Linked DNA regions of Homo sapiens: all the other regions are linked to region 1. The links are contacts of gene promoters, found by promoter capture Hi-C in blood cells and fetal thymus (Javierre and others, 2016). All regions are on one chromosome and are shown on one strand. The core of a region is centred on a gene start or on the middle of the fragment in contact, and the rest is flanking DNA. Distances in the headings are between cores, read along the strand shown.

The links. Contacts are between HindIII fragments. The CHiCAGO score rates a contact against its expected background, and 5 or more counts as called.
Region 2: a contact is called between a fragment that was not itself captured here and the fragment with the promoter of MMP16 in region 1, in 1 of 17 cell types (endothelial precursors). The highest score is 6.4, in endothelial precursors.
Region 3: a fragment that was not itself captured here is called in contact with the fragment with the promoter of MMP16 in region 1 in 2 of 17 cell types (megakaryocytes and M1 macrophages); the score reaches 6.7 in megakaryocytes.
Region 4: a fragment that was not itself captured here is called in contact with the fragment with the promoter of MMP16 in region 1 in 3 of 17 cell types (M0 macrophages, erythroblasts and M2 macrophages); the score reaches 5.7 in M0 macrophages.

The regions. Positions count from the first base shown.
Region 1 is chr8:88,325,349-88,329,839 of GRCh38, forward strand. MMP16 (matrix metallopeptidase 16) reads right to left here and starts at 2,135. Exons shown (of 10, transcript NM_005941.5): 1 at 1,727-2,135. The coding sequence starts at 1,858. LOC105375630 (a long non-coding RNA gene) reads left to right here and starts at 2,496. Exons shown (of 8, transcript XR_001745653.3): 1 at 2,496-2,550; 2 at 3,581-3,749. The HindIII fragment of the contact is 7,293 bases long and covers 674-4,491 here.
Region 2 is chr8:87,690,946-87,695,332 of GRCh38, forward strand. No RefSeq gene overlaps it. Among named protein-coding and RNA genes, the nearest start is that of DCAF4L2, 180 kb to the right of the region's middle. The HindIII fragment of the contact is 4,310 bases long and covers 918-4,387 here.
Region 3 is chr8:87,562,705-87,567,115 of GRCh38, forward strand. No RefSeq gene overlaps it. Among named protein-coding and RNA genes, the nearest start is that of DCAF4L2, 310 kb to the right of the region's middle. The HindIII fragment of the contact is 728 bases long and covers 2,032-2,759 here.
Region 4 is chr8:87,588,216-87,592,282 of GRCh38, forward strand. No RefSeq gene overlaps it. Among named protein-coding and RNA genes, the nearest start is that of DCAF4L2, 280 kb to the right of the region's middle. The HindIII fragment of the contact is 3,111 bases long and covers 198-3,308 here.

The sequences.
Region 1 (4,491 bases), core at 885-3,384:
AATACTTTCCTAAAGCAGGTAACCATCAATCCAGGCTGTCCTTCCCTTCCCTTATTCAGAAAGACACAACCTTGCACTTACTTTTACCACCTCCCACACACTCCACCTCACCACCATCACCACCAACCTGAAGCAATAGGCCCTTCTGTTTATAACATTATAAATAACAGCTTGCCACTTTAATTCCTCCAGCCTATGAACTAATCCTTCATTTCAACATTAAATTATCTCTTGATTTAAATGTTAGGTACAAAAATCCATCTGTGGCACGTAATTCCAAAAGTTCAAATTTGCAATAAAAAAAGTCTGGACTTTCAAGCCCCTTTCTCTTTTTATCTAGAAAAATAAAGTTGTATTTTTCAAAGGGTTAAACCTTTTTAGTTTTCAAATTGGGTTTTTTTTGTGTAATTTATTCATACTTAATATCTGTGAAGGTCTTTAACTCTTGATAATAGCTCTTACTTTTTCAAATACTTTTTTTGTACTAACCATGACTTATTACATGAAGTCCTAAGAACAGTTTCTATAAACACAGTTATATTCAGAATATGCCTTTACACATGGCATTTATTATGCACACTCTGTGTATCAATTGGTTACATGAAGCATGTTCAAATACTGTGCAACAGGTCTTGCTATTGTGTAAACACACACTCCCAGCAAAATGACAATAAGCTTCATAATATCAACAATATAAGAAAAAAAATCACATTATTCCTTAAAAAATTATTCATAATTCGTTTGAGAGTTCAGAGGACATCAGATCTAATCAAAAGAAGTAAATGTTACTAAGACCCTCTTACTGGCTTTGTATCCCACCGTATATGTGATAAAGTTGTGTTACAGCCCAGGTGTATACACGCTTTCATTGATTTATTGCACATTACTGGCTTCAGTGCTGACTTGATGACAGGAAGAGTACTTTGGCAGAGGTCTGACAAGTCCCTATCCTTAAGTTCCCTTTTGCTTTGTGCCGTCTGTTCCCAAAGCTATCAAAGTAAAGCAAATGACAGTCTAAAACCTCCCCGTTTTGCCACGAGAGTGTGAAATCAAATTAAAAACACACCTCAAAACTATTACATTGGGCCACGTTTATTTTCAATTGGCGGGGGAGGGGGAAAGAAGACACTTAAAAAGAGATGGATTTCATGTCCTCTGTGTAGCCAGATCTAGTTACAGTGTATTAAGTTATGTCTAAATGAAAAAAAAAAAGATTCTCAAGTGTTTTATCACAAAGTAATGTTATTAAACACATCTAGTGTTCCCACGCTCTCCTCTAGATTCTTTGATTTTTAACCTCCTTTGTTAGGCACCAAACACTGGGAGAAAGATTTCAGGAACAATACCTAGGCAGCACATGATGCCAGGGAATTAATTCTGTCTTCCCCGAGCTGTTTATCCATCATAAACTCAAGCTGCCTTATTTAGCTACACGGTTGCTATATGTAGGACTTCTCTTCCCTGGGTGAAAAGCATGGACCGGCTACAATTGTGTCTTTGAGCGCGCAGCATCGTGCTTTGTGCTGCCGGGGATAACGGATTCTGGGTCTCACACGCATCCGTCACCTAAAACACCCTTAAACTGAACCAGGGTCTCCACAGCTGGAAGGGAAACAACGTGCTGGGACCCAGGCTGCTCTGAGCTACAAGGATCCCAGGAGTGAAGGAAATGTTTCAGGGAGCAGCCCAGGCAGCGGGGGGAGGAAGAAAGCCCTCGCACTCTTACCTCCACATTGAAATACTGCTCCGTTCCGCAGACTGTAGCACATAAAATCCAAAGCAAGGTTTGCAAGAAAAACACCCCCGAATGATGCACGAAATCCAACCGTCTTCCAGTGCTGAATGTGAGTAAGATCATAGTGAACTGTGCTTCAATGGATGGACGAGCTCCCCTTCGTTTTCTCCCTCTCTCCCTCTCCCTCCCTCCCTCGTTTCCTTTCAAAAAAAAGTCCTCCGGGTGGGTAAGGAGCCTGCAGGTTCACCCACAGCCGGGCAAGGGGAGGAGACAGGGGCCCCGCGCTCGGCAGCCCCCGAGAGGCAGCGGCGAAGACAGGGTCAGCAGTAGTTCCTGTTCACCATCCTCCGGGGTCAGTCACCGGGAACGTGGCGCCTAAGTTCACCGGCGGTTCCGGCTCAAAGAGCCTAGTCGCAGCCGCAGCAGCAGCAGCCGCCGCCGCCGCCGCCGCCTCCAGCCCGTGCGTCCTCCTCCTGCACTGCCTACTCCTCCTCCTCCTCCGCCGCCGCCGCCGCCCCCAGCTCCTGCGGGAAGGGCCTCCGCCGCTCCTCACTCTCTCGCCTCTGCTTCTCCTTCCCTCCTCTCCTCGCTCCCCTCCAGAATGTTCATCCGTAATCTACATAACTCCTCCTTCCCGGGGTCTGCCTGGCTCTCGGGGCCCTTGGCGCGCGCGCGCGCGCGCACACACACACACACACACACACACACAGAGACACACCGCGACACACACACACACACGCGCGCATACACACAGCCCGACACACACGCACGCGCGCTTCTTAAAGGAGACGGCTCATAAAGGATTCCCCACTACGGTAGGGCGCACCGGAGGTATCCAGCCCGCGACAAGGGCCCTGGTTTGAGCACAGCTCTTCGACAGTATCTCCCATCCCGCATCCCCGAGGCAGGCACCCAGGAACTTGGGCGGCTCCATTCTTTCTTCCCGCCCACCCTGCCGCCTCGCATCTAAAAACGAGTGCGCCCCTCTCCAGCCATGAGCTGGGTGGGGCTCAGGCTGCGGACCCTAGTGGGGCCTGGGGAGCGGCCCAACCCTGGTCCTGGAGAGCGGTCGGCATTCCTGAGGAAGCGGCCCTGGAAGAATAGGGGCGCTGGGAATCAGAGGAGCGCCTGGTCACTGAGCGCCCCTGGGTGGCTCGGGTCGGTGGCCGGGGCTGACCAAGTTTGGGAAGACTGAGATAGCAAATCCCGAACGTCCAAAACTTTGTTGGGGTCCCGAGCCTGTGGCCTGGTGTCTTCCTGAATCCCCTCTACCATAGCTACATTCCGCCTTCCAGGCTTGAGGAGTAGGCACAGGGTTTTGGTGGCGGACTAGACAAATACAGAAGCGGGATGAAAACGCTCACTTTCCAAGTGAACGGTGGACACACGCGCACAGTGGGACCCGGGAGAGATGGTCCTGGGTGTTAACAAAACATCCGATGAGAGGGATGGGGGCGCTGGAAAGAAACCGGCTGCGGGAGCCAGGGGAAGGGTTGGGGAAAGAAGGAGAAGAAGCAGCCTGAGGAAAGGCGAGTAAAGCAGCTGGCAAGGGCGGGAGGAAGAGGCTGCTCGCAGACCGAGCGGGGGAGAGGCTGGCGGGAGCTAGGAGAGCTGCAGGCAAGAGGGGGAGGCGGCTGGCAAGAAGCACGGGCGAACGCGGGCAGGGAACTTCAGAGGAGGCTGCCAGAAAGGACTGGAGCTGTAGCAGTGCGAGGCAGTGGACAGGGGGGGCAGCAACCACCAGCCCTTGGCAAGTGATGGTTTGGCTGAAAGAGGAAGGGGGAAGGGAGCGAGGCAAGCATCTGTTTGGGGGCTAATGCCAGTAAATGTGCTTCTCCTTGGCAGCCAGCAGAGGGGAAGAGGAGCCCACGGGAAAGAAAAGCAGGCGAGGTTAAGAATAAAGAGTGTTCCAGGTATGACAGCTACCTCGGTGAGGTGGAAGAGAGAATTGACAAGGCAAATTTCATGGGTGAGTTGGAAAGGCAAGAAGCAGGACTACAAGAGGTCCTATGTGGTAAGCAGATGGAAAATTCTGAGAATGGTTTGCCAAAAATTGTATTAGACTGCAATAACTTTTATCCAATAAAAGAAAAAAAGGCTGAGGAATGGGACTTTGCAGCTGTTGCTGTAAAAATGTAAGAAATGCCCACCCAACTTGACCCAAGACCCAAGAAGTTCTCAGGGAGACCTTCCTGACAGTCTGCCTTGTGCCCAGCATGTGCTGCCCACAAAATAATTTTGAAGATGTAATAAAAAGCAATGTCTTATATTGTATAGTACATTAGAATATTCAGAATGTTTCCAGACATAGTATCTCATTTAATTCTCACACCATCTCTGAGGATTTTGTTTTTATTTTACAGATGAAGTAAATGATAGCAATAAAATATAACGTTCCAGCAAACCATACAAGTGGCAGAGTTCAGACTTTTGTTTCCTGACTCCCAGTTCAGTGATTTTCCTGCTATACTCCAGTGACTTTCCAAATGGAAATTCATTCCTGCTCTTAGCAATTTTATAATCCATAGGTTGAGATGATTTTTTATAAAAGAAACAGCTAGAAGGCAACATGAAAGTAATGTCATTATATAGAATTTATATGGTGTTCTGTGCCAATATAAGGTAACGAAATGTAGTGAAGTATTTGTCAATAAATCAAGAATGATTTTTATGTGTGCATTATATCTAGTAAAGTGCAAAATTAGAGAGGGAAAATGATACAAAAAAAATGTTTAAACTCAGTTCCTAGTCTTTGA
Region 2 (4,387 bases), core at 1,823-4,322, 630 kb before region 1:
GTCAAACTGTCAAAACTACAGAAAGGCCAAGTAAGAAGAGGACAAGTGATTGGTAATTCCTTTTGGCAAGATGCGGGTCATTTGTGAGAACTTTCAATGGAAGAAGAGGGAAGGACAGCCTGATTTAAATAGGTCGAGAAAAAATGAGATGTGAAGAAATGCATAAAGGCAATTCCTTCAAGGAGTTTCTCTGAAGGGGAACAGAGAAGTGGAGCAGTGATTATAATAAAATGTAAGGTCAAGGGAAGGTTTAGTGTTTTGAAATTTTAAAGATGAACAATGTTAAGGAAGAATTTTATGGTAATGAGAATGATCTGGATATATGGAGAAACTGCTGCGGCAAGAGAGCAAAGTGACTTACTCTTTTCGGTTTCTAAATAGTAGACTTCTGAAACAAATTAATTCAGACATTTGAAAAAAAGATTTTGGAGAATAAAATTTTTAGATGTCCCTTAGTGAATGTTCTTGGTGTTTAACAAGAGTCTTCATTACATCCTGGCAAAGTATTAATTCACGTGATATTTTGTAACATTTTATAACTGAAGAGATGTGATGGAATGAGAAGACTTATGGGTACACTTGGTACTCTAAACATTGCTTGATTAATTCTTTAAAAATCAAATCTTATAAAGAGCCTCTAAGCTAATAAAAGATTACAACCATTTCAGAAAGGTGAGGTTAATTTAATGTCTATTGCCTTAAAAGAAATGTAGATGATGAGAGTATTTGAAAATTCACACAAATGAACGTCACAAAATTGGATAGTGAAATATGAAAATGTTACTATTGACTAAGGTAAGAGTAAGAGCTTGGGAAGTAAGAAAAACTTTCCTCAGATGGCAGACTATTAGTGTGTGGAACAGGCCACCGAAGAAACCAATAAAATCTTTAACTATGAACACAGTGAAAATGATTTAAGCTTTTTGACTATAGAGTTTACAGGTTTTAAACATTAGCTGTGTAAGTGGAAAGACCATTAAGTGCCATATGGGCTCTTTCTTTGACAAAGCATCATTTTAGCAGAGTGGAGGGTGAAAGGGAATCAGGATTTTTATTTTAAATCCAAATTGCTTTATATTTTCAAAGATATAATTAAAATATTAAACAAGTAAAATCTATCATTGTAATAATCAAGATAATAGTAGAAACAAGTTAGCCTGGAGAACTTTTATAGTATCTTGGATTAGTAAAACAATACTTGTCTGTGGTTATCAAGGCCAAGGAAGAAAAAAAAATCAATCAGAGTTATCCCCAAGACTGAAGCATTGTGGAGCTGCAAGGATTTACAATGATAAAATAGATTACCTCCGATTAAGTGTATTCAACAATTTGATCATTATGCAGCTCTGTTTTCTATGAACACCTGTAAGCATAGCAACACAGAATGCTGACAATACCTTCTTAACATTTGCAAATTGAAGAAGATCATGAAGGAAAATATTTCAGTACTTCAAAAACCCCAAACACTTCATTATCTCCAAAAATACCTAGGTCATTGAGTTAAACTGCATTTCTTTATCTCTTGCAATCATTTGGTTGATAATTGCCATGGTCCTTAATATTCTCCAAAATTATTCCTCCACAACTCAATTTCCTGACCCTTTGACTATAAAAGTTCCTGACACAAAATTAGGCACAGGATCATGGGTATACCAGAACCAAAACATATTGTGTTTACTTAATGGCAAATATTGATTCCAAAATCAGAAAGTTTTCCTGACAAATCGCAACCTAAAATCAGGAGACTGTAATTTCGATGACTCTGTAGGCTTACTAATACTCTGATTTTTTTTATGCTATGAAAAATGTTAAACATACTAATCTTCATTCCTTGGGGAGGAAGGGGAAAGAAATCTCCCCTTGCTTTTCTTTATTTTTTACTTTTATTAAGTTCAGAAGTACAAGTGCAGGTTTGTTACATAAGTAAACTTGTGTCATGGAAGTTTTTTGTACAGATCATTTCGTCACCCACTTATTAAGCCTAGTACCCGTTAGTTATCTTTCCTGATTCTCTCCCTCCTCCCACACTCCACCCTCAGGTAAGTGTGTGTTGTTCCCTTTTATGAGTTCATGTGTTCTCATCATTTAGCTCTCACTTATAAGTGAGAACATACCATATTTGGTTTTCTGTTTCTATGTTAGTTTGCTATGGATAATGGCCTCCAGCTCCACCCATGTTCCTGCAAAGGACATGATCCTGTTCTTTTTTATGATTGCATAGTATTCCATGGTCTATAAGTACCATATTTGCTCTATCCAGTCTATTATTGATGGGCATTTAGGCTGATTCCATGTCTTTGCTATTGTGAATGCTATAATGAAAATATACATGCATGTGTCTTTATGATAGAATGATTTATATTCCTTTGGGTATATACCCAGTAATGGGATTGCTGGGTGAAATGGTATCTCTGCCTTTAGGTCTTTGAGGAATTATCACACTGTCTTTCACAATGGCTGAACTAATTTACATTCCCACCAAGAGTGAATAATTGTTCATTTTTCTCCACAACCACCAGCATCTTTCATTTTTTGACTTAAGTGAAATAGAATTACCAGCCTTAAGAAAGGGCTTACAACCCAGTTTCTAAAGAGTTCATCTGATTTAAACACAGACCACAATCTCACTTACAAAGGTCAATATCTCCAAAAAGGAAGTGGACAAGAAGTGGCAGGATCAAATTGCTAGGAAATATTGAAGATCTATCAAGACCTGTAAAAAGCAAAGTGAAAAGGGTCTGTGTAACCTAGATGTCCACGCAAGAGAAATAGTGCAATAGTAGACTTCCTGGTACAACAGTTTTTGATTGCAAATCAGCTCACATGCCCTGATCAATCTGAGATGAATAGTCAAATTAATCTTAATTAAAGCTGAAGTTGCATTGGTTCAAATGTATTATTTTTTCCAGTTAGGATTTTGTCCCATAAATAACAGCAATTGAACAGAAAATATTCAAATCGAGTTGAACATAACAAGTCATGAATGTACAATATGTCCCCAGATGCCCATTCACCTCCAATCTTCTTGGTTCAATTCAGTCAGGTGCTCTGTCCAGGGAATTTTTATTGTATGGTGGTCAATTTGGAAGGTTTTTTTTCTCTGTTTCTATAACTCAGCAGCTTCAACTCTTCCTTACCCTTCATTCCAATGAGCTACTGTCGCTTTTTTTTCAAGACACAGTCCTGCCTTATTGTTATAATTATTTATTTTTAAGAAATTAAAAATGTCTTCTTAACTGTGCTAGTATTTTTATTGGGGTTAGTATTATGTTCATTGGGGCTCTGGTTACAACACTCCATAGATTCTGAGTTGTCTGTTTTTAACTTTTTTTTCCCTCAAGTTTTATCATTTTTAGTATGTAATTTTGTAGCATACAAGGTTTTAAAGAACGTGTATATTGCAACACAGTGAAAATGCCTATATAATTGAGGCTCATAAGCTGCAACAGGGTAGAGCCCAAAAAGTGAAAACACCAGAGACAGAAAAAAAAGTTACTGTTTTCCTCTAACACTGCCTCCTCTCTGAGTTTATTTGTCCTGTCCAGAACACAGGACAACGTTCTGGAATTCCTAGATTTCCATGACCCTCTGATAGGTCTTTGATTTTCTTTTTTTTTTTTCTGATGTGTGTCTTTGTGTGTGTGTGTGTGTGTGTGTGTGTGAGAGAGAGAGAGAGAGAGAGAGAGAGAGAGAGAGAGAGAGAGAGAATGGTGTTTGAAAGAACCGGAGGATAAAATAGAAGATGGCATTAGTTAGCCCTTGCTATTTTACCTAACCACACTCTGTTTAGTCAACATTTAAAGGCTGCAAATATTCACAAAGGAACTAAAGTTGTGAAGATTGGGAAATAAGACCACATTTAGACATTAAAATGTAGTCTCATATTCAACACACTTTTTCACCAAATGTAAGTGAATCATGATGATTTATTTTTATGAAGATGTTTGTATATACTTTTTAAGAATGTGAACATGCTGTTCAATTACACAAGAACCAAGAAGGGTACTTTGTCTCATATGGTTACAACAATTAACTGTTCTTTTCCCCACCTTTCACGTCTAATTCTGTGACTGTCAATAATGTTAACATCACATAATAGGCGTCTTCATACTGTCTGCATCACACAGAAAACTCTGAGCTATTTCAGAATAGAACATCTTATATATCTCTATAACACAATCTTGATATCTCTAACACAATGCTGACACAAATGTTTGTTAAATGAATCAGTAATATGAATACATAAATAAACATGCAAATATTTTGGATGCAATTACTGACCATTTCCGAATCTGTCCAGAGCTAGTATCTTACATATTGGGATCTAATACACTGCCCTCAAAGGACATCCACATCCCATAGTATTTTATGACGACCTCTATTCCAG
Region 3 (4,411 bases), core at 1,146-3,645, 760 kb before region 1:
AGGGTATATTTATTTTGATCAACAAAAGGTATTAATTTTGATATTTAATGTATCTATTTTCTTTATAAACTATATTAAGAAAAAAGAAACTTTTGCCTGCCACCAGTACACAAAATAACCTCCTATTCTTGCATTTAAAAGATGCTATCTATTTAATTGAAACTTTTACTTTGAGATAATTGAAAATTCACATGCCCTTGTAAGAAATAATACAGTGTGACCCCCTGTACCCTTTACCCCGTTTTCCTCAATGATAGCATCTTGCAATACTATAGTAAAATATCACAATTGGGACATTGATAATGGCACAGTCAAGATACAGAACGTTTCCATCATCACAAGGCTTCCTTATGTTGCTCTTTTATAATTGCCCTCACCTCTCTCCCACTTCCACTCCCTCCTAAACCCCAAACAACCAGTAATCTATTTTCCATTTTTATAACTTTGCATTTTAAAGACTGTCATATAAATGAAATCATATAATAAGCCACCTTTTAGGATTGGCTTTTACAATTAACATAATTCTCTGGAGATTCCTGGTTGTATTGTTTGTTCTTTCTTATTGCTGAGTAGTATTCCGTGATATGGTAGGACCATATGTGTTTAACCATTCACTCTGAAAAACATCTGGGTTGTTTCCAGTTTTAGACATGACTAGCAAATCTACTAAATCTACTGCAAACATTTATATGCAGGTTTTGTGAGAACATAAGTTTTTGTTTCCCTGGGTTACATACCCTCGAGTATAATTGTTGAATCATATAGTAGTTGCATGTTGAGTTTTCTTTAAGAAACAAGCAAACTACTTTTCCAGAATGGCTGAACAATTTCGCATTCCCACCAGCAATGCATGAGTGATCCAGTTTCTCTACATCCTCACCAGCATTTGTGTTGTTGCTATTTTTTTTAATTTTAGTCATTCTGAATGCTGTACAAGTGTTCTTTCTAAAAGGTAATCTGATTTTTCACACTGCTCAATTCTGTTGACATGTGCTGTTTTTAATTTTATTGTCTATACTTGGGGTATATAACATGATGTTTTGATATACATAGTGAAATAATTGCTACAGTCAAGCAAATTAACTTATATATTACCATAGTTACCTATTTTATAGTAAAAGCCCCTAAAATCTACTCTCTTAGCAAATTTTCAGTAAACAGTATTATTAACTACAGTCCTCGTAGTCCACAAATTGCATGTTTGTACCCTTTGGCCTTTATCTCCCCATTTCCTCCCCTTCCCTGTGCCTAGTAACCAAAATTCTACTTTCTGTTTCTATGTATTTGACTTTTCAAATATACTTTCAGCCATGAGCTTGAGTATGTGTCAATTTTGTCATATTAACATGATATGTGGGAGAATTCAAAAAAAGAGAAAGTTATATGAAAAATTAAAATCCATCTTAAAACTTAAACTTCCCAAGTATACTCCATTTTTCCTCTGTAGCATTTTCAGTTTGTAATTATATATTTATTATGTGACTGTGTGAAATTAGGTCATTTATTTTCTTCCCTTTTATATTGAACTTCCCCACTAGAGAGCAAGAATCCTGCCTCCTGCCTTATGCCCTGCTGCATGGCTTGTGTCTAGTATATAAGAACACCTGATAGAAATTAATAAACAATTACTGAATGTTAATATGTTTCCTAAATATGTTCATTTCTTGAATATAAAATTATTCCATAGATTATCTTAAGTAGTTGTTATGTAAATAATTGCTTAAAAACAGTGTCAGTGAGCATTATATAATGTTTAAACTTTGAATAGTGCATTAGCTTCTTTTTTATCACATATACAACAATTAGAAAGACCTGAGTTAACTCCTACTGGTCTTTAAGTATCAGAGAAAATTCTATTCTTATTCAAAATGGGGCTTTTGTTCCTTTAAAACATTTCTAAACTTTAAAACTTGAGAAGTCTGACCTCTAGTACAAATAAAAATGTCTCCTTTTTATAACTATATGTAATAGCTCTGATAGAAACGCACAGGACTTGTTCAATATTCTTTGCTTCAGACACATTACACATAAAGCTTCCCAAGAGAGAACTTACGTCTATTCTTAAAATTCCCCAATAGAAAAGATGGAGCTATGTTTTACTCTCCCATCTTAATATATGATCCATGGTACATACTTGATTTTGTCAGTTCCCTGTTTACATTTTCTTGCCCTATTGCAGTGCAGCTCTTGCCAGCATGCATATATATTGCCTGAGAGCTATTCTTGCTGGCAGTGTCTTCTTGCCATCTATATTGCAGTCTAGAAGTGCCAGAGAATGAATGCCTCTCCAAGTGTAGATCTCTAACAAAGACTAACAGCAGTTGATTTAGGAACATCACAGTTCTCTTTTGTCTTCATTGGGATAACTCTGAAGCATGTGCCCTATCCTGACTTCCAGAGTTCTTCCAGTGGTGTTGAGCTCTACTAACCAACCATATAACTTGCTTTAAAATGAATTCTTTGTTAGCTGCCTTCATTCCACATTCCTCTGCTGCTGTTTTTGAGAATCACACCCAAAATAAATTGCATCTTAATCTTTATCTCAGCTTGTTTTGGAGGAACCCAAACTAACATATAAATTCACATTTGAAGAAATAAAATTGGAGTTATTACTTTCATTCCAAATATCCCTAATTCTGATGAATGTAATGCAGTGACTTTAATGAGGGAGTCAGTACAAATAGAAAGCAGCTGTTTCCTTCCCCCCTCCCTGCTATCCTATTAAAACCACTTTGTCAATTCATCCCTCTCTGCATGAAAGCTTATGAGGTTCCCATATCTTTTATCTTCACCTTGAAGTTTAATAAATAGTTTCATATTCAACTGTTAAAGCCTACAATTTTTGTAGCCCCACATAGAGGCTGATCAGTCTCAGAAGTCTGCACTGGAGAAAGAAGTAGGGTTTCTTTCTTTCCTGTTTATCTACTTTACTGATCTCCTGTTCCTCCCACTCTTCCACTCTCTCTGCTGTCTCCAGCTCTTCAAGCTTGAAGCTGGGAAAGAGAACAAAGAATCAAATGGAATGTTAGACTGGAATGTTATAATCTGAAATGGTGCAGCTGATGCCACAGGGCCAGTTCTTCTGCTCCTTGGAGTACGGTGGGCTCCTCAGAAATCCAACCGCACCTCTTGCTGCAGACCTTACTCAGCACTCCTCTTGCCTGTGGTGATAATACAGTCTCTTACTGGCAGCTTAAAAGCTTTGCTCCTTCCATCCTTTGCCTTTCCTTCTGCATCCGACAGTACAGACCAGCCTCTTTCAACCAGATTCATCTTTCCTCAGCAGGAAGCCCTTTGGGGTGGGATCATTTTCCAAACAATCGAAGGCCAGATAGCTTCTAGAGTTCCAAGAGACCTCTGGAAATAGTACCCTTGGTTTGGGATGAGCAAAAATAGAATTCACTTCCATCAAAAGCCTCTTGGCTCTTCCTTCTATAAGGCCCACTACAGGCAGCCCAGCCTATTGGCATCGGAATTTTTTCTTTCCTTCTTTCTTTCTTTTTTTTCTTTTTTCTTTTTTTTTTTTTGACAGAGTCTCGCTCTGTCGCCCAGGCTGGAGTGCAGTGGTGCAATCTCGGCTCACTACAAGCTCCGCTTCCCGGGTTCACGCCATTCTCCTGCCTCAGCCTCCCGAGTAACTGGGACTACAGGCGCCGCCACCACACCTGGCTAATTTGCATTTTTTTTTTAGTAGAGACGGGGTTTCACAGTGTTAGCCAGAATGGTCTCGATCTCCTGACCTCGTGATCCACCCGCCTCAGCCTCCCAAAGTGCTAGGATTACAGGCGTGAGCCACCGCGCCCGGCTGGCATCGGACTTCTACAAGTGCAAGTCAACACAAAACCCTGTGCCCCCGACTGTAGGGAGTCCAAATTCTCTGAAGGTCTCTCCCCACCCGCTTGTTCCAGGTTAGTCTTCCTCCTGGCAGGAAGCACACCCAAGCTCTGTCAGAGGATTTTTACAACCTCCCAACTTGGCTCAAGGTATGGAGAAGAAAGGAAAAATCTACAGCTCTTCTCACAGAAACCCATCCTCATGGTCTTTCCTTTATTGCTCTTCTTTTTTCTCCTTGTATTGGCTTGAGGCACGTCATAGACAAAGGCTTATCTGTCTTTTGGGGTTACCCCTTAGCATGTTCTGCACAGCTGGCCTGTCAACTCGCTTTCAAATTAGTGGGTATTTAACAACCTCTCTTTGATCTCTGTAGCTCCAGCTGAAATTCTGAGACAGCAGGAAGAGTTCTCCTTTGACATTCTGCAACAATTCGAATTCACATTCTAAATTTAAAAAAAAAAACTTTTATTTATTAGGTTTTACTATATTCCAAACTTTGGGCTATATCTTGACTGACCATACATTATCAAGTTAGAATTGTCTTTTTAAATACATCATCTGATAGCTTTTTATCAGT
Region 4 (4,067 bases), core at 503-3,002, 740 kb before region 1:
GGCTTAGTGATTTTGGGGTACACACACTACTGCTACTACTACTACTACTACTACTACTACTACTACCACCACCACCAAGAGATATACAATTATATGCATCAGGAATTACTAACAACACACAGCTTCTCTCATTTACCCTACACAGCTTAAAAACTAATGATAACGTTTGAATTAACTGTCAAGTTTTTTAAAATGAAAGCTTTCATAAGAGGATCTGTACCTCAGCCTTCTTTTGAAAAACTGGAAGATCTATTAAGATCAACACCAGGGTGCACATGACTACTGTATTAAATTTATGTTACTGTCATAACATTACCACAAATTCAGTGCCATAGCAGAATACAATGTATTATCCTACATTTCTGCAGGTTGGAAGTCTGAATGGTTCTCAATGGAGACCCATAAGGTATTGCAGGCTTCATTCTGTTCTGTAGGCACCAGGGAAGAAGCCCATTTCTTGTTTTCTTCCAGCTTCTAGAGACTGCTTGCATTCCTTTCTCTTTCCACCTTCAAAGCCAACCATAGGCTCTGGAGTCTCGCTTACATTGCATCATTGTGACACTGACACTTCTGCCTTCCTTTTCCACATTTAAGAGCCCTTATATTTATGTTGGGCTCACCTAGATAATACAGGATAACATCTTTATTTTAAAATTAGTTGATTGCTAACCTTATTTCCATCTACTACTATAATTCTCCTTTGCCGTGTCATACAATATATTCACAGGTTCTGGGAATTAGGATATGTCATCTTTAGGGGCCATTATTCAATCTATCAAAGCCACAATGTCATGGAGACAAGGAGTAGTAGCCACTTTCCAGGCACATCACATGTGATCCACAACCCTTCCCACTCCTTTCCACTCATTTACAGGTTACTTACTTGGTCTTCATGGGCATCTGAGGTTGTGATTCCTGCTATACGCATGCATGTGCTGTGAAACACAAAGGCTTGTCTTTTAGAACCTAGTCTCATACTCAAGTTCCATGAGCCCAGGGAATATGAGAAACTTTGGAGTGACTCTTAGATTTCATTCTGAGACTCCTGGTATTTCTTTTCCCTCTTCTTATAGACCACAGTGGCAAAATCATTAGATAAGAAAACTAACATTTTTTATTACCCTCCTAGAAACCAGAAACGAAATTACTTATACGTACAGTCACAAAATTTCAGTTGACTTGAATTAGACTAAAATTGCACTTGCAACTAAAGTACCAAAGATTTAGTTGAAAGGTGAGCAGGGTCTTAGTTGCAAAGACTGAGAAGGTACCAGTATCAAAGAAATGGGAAATCTTTTGAAATATAAGCCTACCCAGTCATCCAACTGAGAACTCACATAAACAAATTATTTTTGGGGAATTACTAGAAATGATTTTTGCAGCTAGTATGGAGCTGGATGCAGTTTATGTTCAAAGGATGTTTGTTTAATGAGTAACATTTTGAAACATCTCTTGAAATAATTTGTAGGGTTTTTTTTTTGTTTTATTCCATCTTGTTTGCTTAAATTGTTTATCTGTTTGTATTACAAAGACAAAAAAAGAGAGCCTTTTTGTGATCCATTGAATCCCTGAGAGGAAAAATTATCCATATTCAGACACTTAAGAAGAAAGGGGAGAATAAATAGTAGCTTGTTATATATGACCCTATCCAGGAAGAATACTAACACTCTAAGTTTTGCACTTAATTTTGCTGCAGATCAGGCAGCCACATAATTCTCCTAATCTAAGATATGTCCAAATCAGACAGTACAATGTACATGTTCTTTTCCAATACGATTATGCACAGCAGGGACAGAAGAATACATTGTGGGGCCATTAAACTTAAATTAAAATTACACCTCAGAGTGAAATTTTGCGCTAATGTACATTACGGTACTATAGGCTGGCTTCCTTTCTTCATTGAGTTAAACATGCCCTTGGTTTCATGCTGAAATCTTCTGAGGGGAAAAAAAGCAGATCACAACATTCCCATTTTCATCTACTTTGTACAGGATAATAGCCTTGAGATAGAAACATTTTGTGAAGGTACCCCCTGGGTCTCCTGACCCAACTGTTTAGGCTCTAAGAGGCAAGAGAAGGATTTACAGTCTGCTGTTCAGTCCTTCCTATAAAGGACAAATTATAATGTGATATATTTGAAAAATGTTTTCTCCCATGATGCCTAATTACAAAGATGTAATGTAGCCATTGCTGTAAACTTTAAAAAGTTTTATGGAAGTATGTGGATTATTTAAAGTTTCTAAACATATGTTCCAAATTTTCCTTCTGGGTGATTCAAACTGGAAGCCTGTATGCTTAGTTTCTTTTGAGCCATATTTTATAATGAGATTTAAAATGGTGACTGCAATGTACATAGACCTGCCATATATATATTACCTGCATAAATATTATGAATAATTAATATTCCACGTTTTGGAAGATTCAGTCCTTACCTATAGTTATCTAGTATTTCTTCCTCATTTGTCTTTTGTCTACATATGTACATGGAATAAATAATTTTGGCTGCACAATTTAATGTGATTTCATTTCACAGGAAGTAGACTGTCTATTTGCATGTAGCTTCTTATTTGCAAATAAATGTTCTATTGTCCTAGACGAAAATGATCTGAAATAATTTTAGAATTTAACTAATTAAACTTTTCTATAAAAATGATTAAAATCTGACTTTGTCAGTTCCTCAGCTTGTAAAATCATCACTGAAAAATTTACTTGTATTAAGAGAACTGAAATGATGACTGCTTTCTTGCAAAAATTTTATCGTGTTTTTCTCTCCTCAGTTAGCTTCTATAAAATTAATTCTATGTGATGAGCCAAAAATGAGAAATAATTAGAATCAATGTTCCTTTGTCTAATAAAAGTATCCAAAATTACAATGCTATATGCAAAAAAAGTTTTCAACACATGTAAAACTTTTTGTGAGATAGTAATTTTAAAAAGCGAGCATCCAACCATGACTTTCTCCTTACTGCAATTGATTTTCCGCGCTGCCTGCAGAACTAATTTTTAAAAGATGAATATAATATGTCATCCCTCTGCTTTATGACATCAGTGTATCCTCAGATTTTACATTGTGGTAAGACAACTTTATGGCAAACCTCAGGGTTTATCAGAAAAGTTTTTTGTGCCTTACTTCCTGTAACTGGATAGGCTTGAAATCATGGACAATATATTACCCAATGAGGACACTTTTGAGAGATAAAGAGGAAATAGTTAACCCCATACTGGGACAACAGGCATAAAATGGAAATGTTTGTTGAAAGTTTACTAGTCCATTAAATAAAAAAATATATATATATATGAAAAGCAGAAGCTTATTACTTACTTAGTTTTCAACTAATTGTATATACATATGCTCAGCATGAATTTGTGACTACTTACTCCCTTTGAACCATTCCGCTAGGAGGTGAGACTATAAAGATGAATCGTCAATCCCTGCCTTTGAGACGCAAGGACAAGTACTTGTAAACTTGCTGCATTAATGCAATGGCCCACTCACTTTCTTGATACAACTCTCTCAGGAGGCACCATCACATTTCCACTCTGTCTAGCTGCTTTCCTCCTTCTCTGGCCTTACTAAATTATTAGCCTATGTCTACAGTTTATTTTACAAATACTCTCACACAGTAGGTGTTAAAAATAAATTTCATTTTAGACACAGACTAAAATTAAGAAAACATTCAATTATATTTTGTGAGGCATTAGGTAAAATGAAATCACATATGAATATTCCTTGAGGCACAGGGAATTAGAAAATATTATAAGATTTATTTTCTCTTATTTAAACTTGATGCAAGAAATGGGCATCTTATTAAAACTCATCCTATGTGGAATGCTTATAATTCATTTGGAATGCTTATAATTCATTTTCAATAATTTTTAAGGAATTTATATAAAAGTAATGTGGTGTTACAGTTGCAGGAAAAAAGTTATATTATGTACACAAAGAGTATTAGAATTTTTTGCCTTACTTCCACTCAACGTGTTTTTACAGATATATTTTACCTAATTACAGTTATAATTTTATAAAGCATTTATTCTGTAATTTTTAAAAAAATCTTTCCTTATAT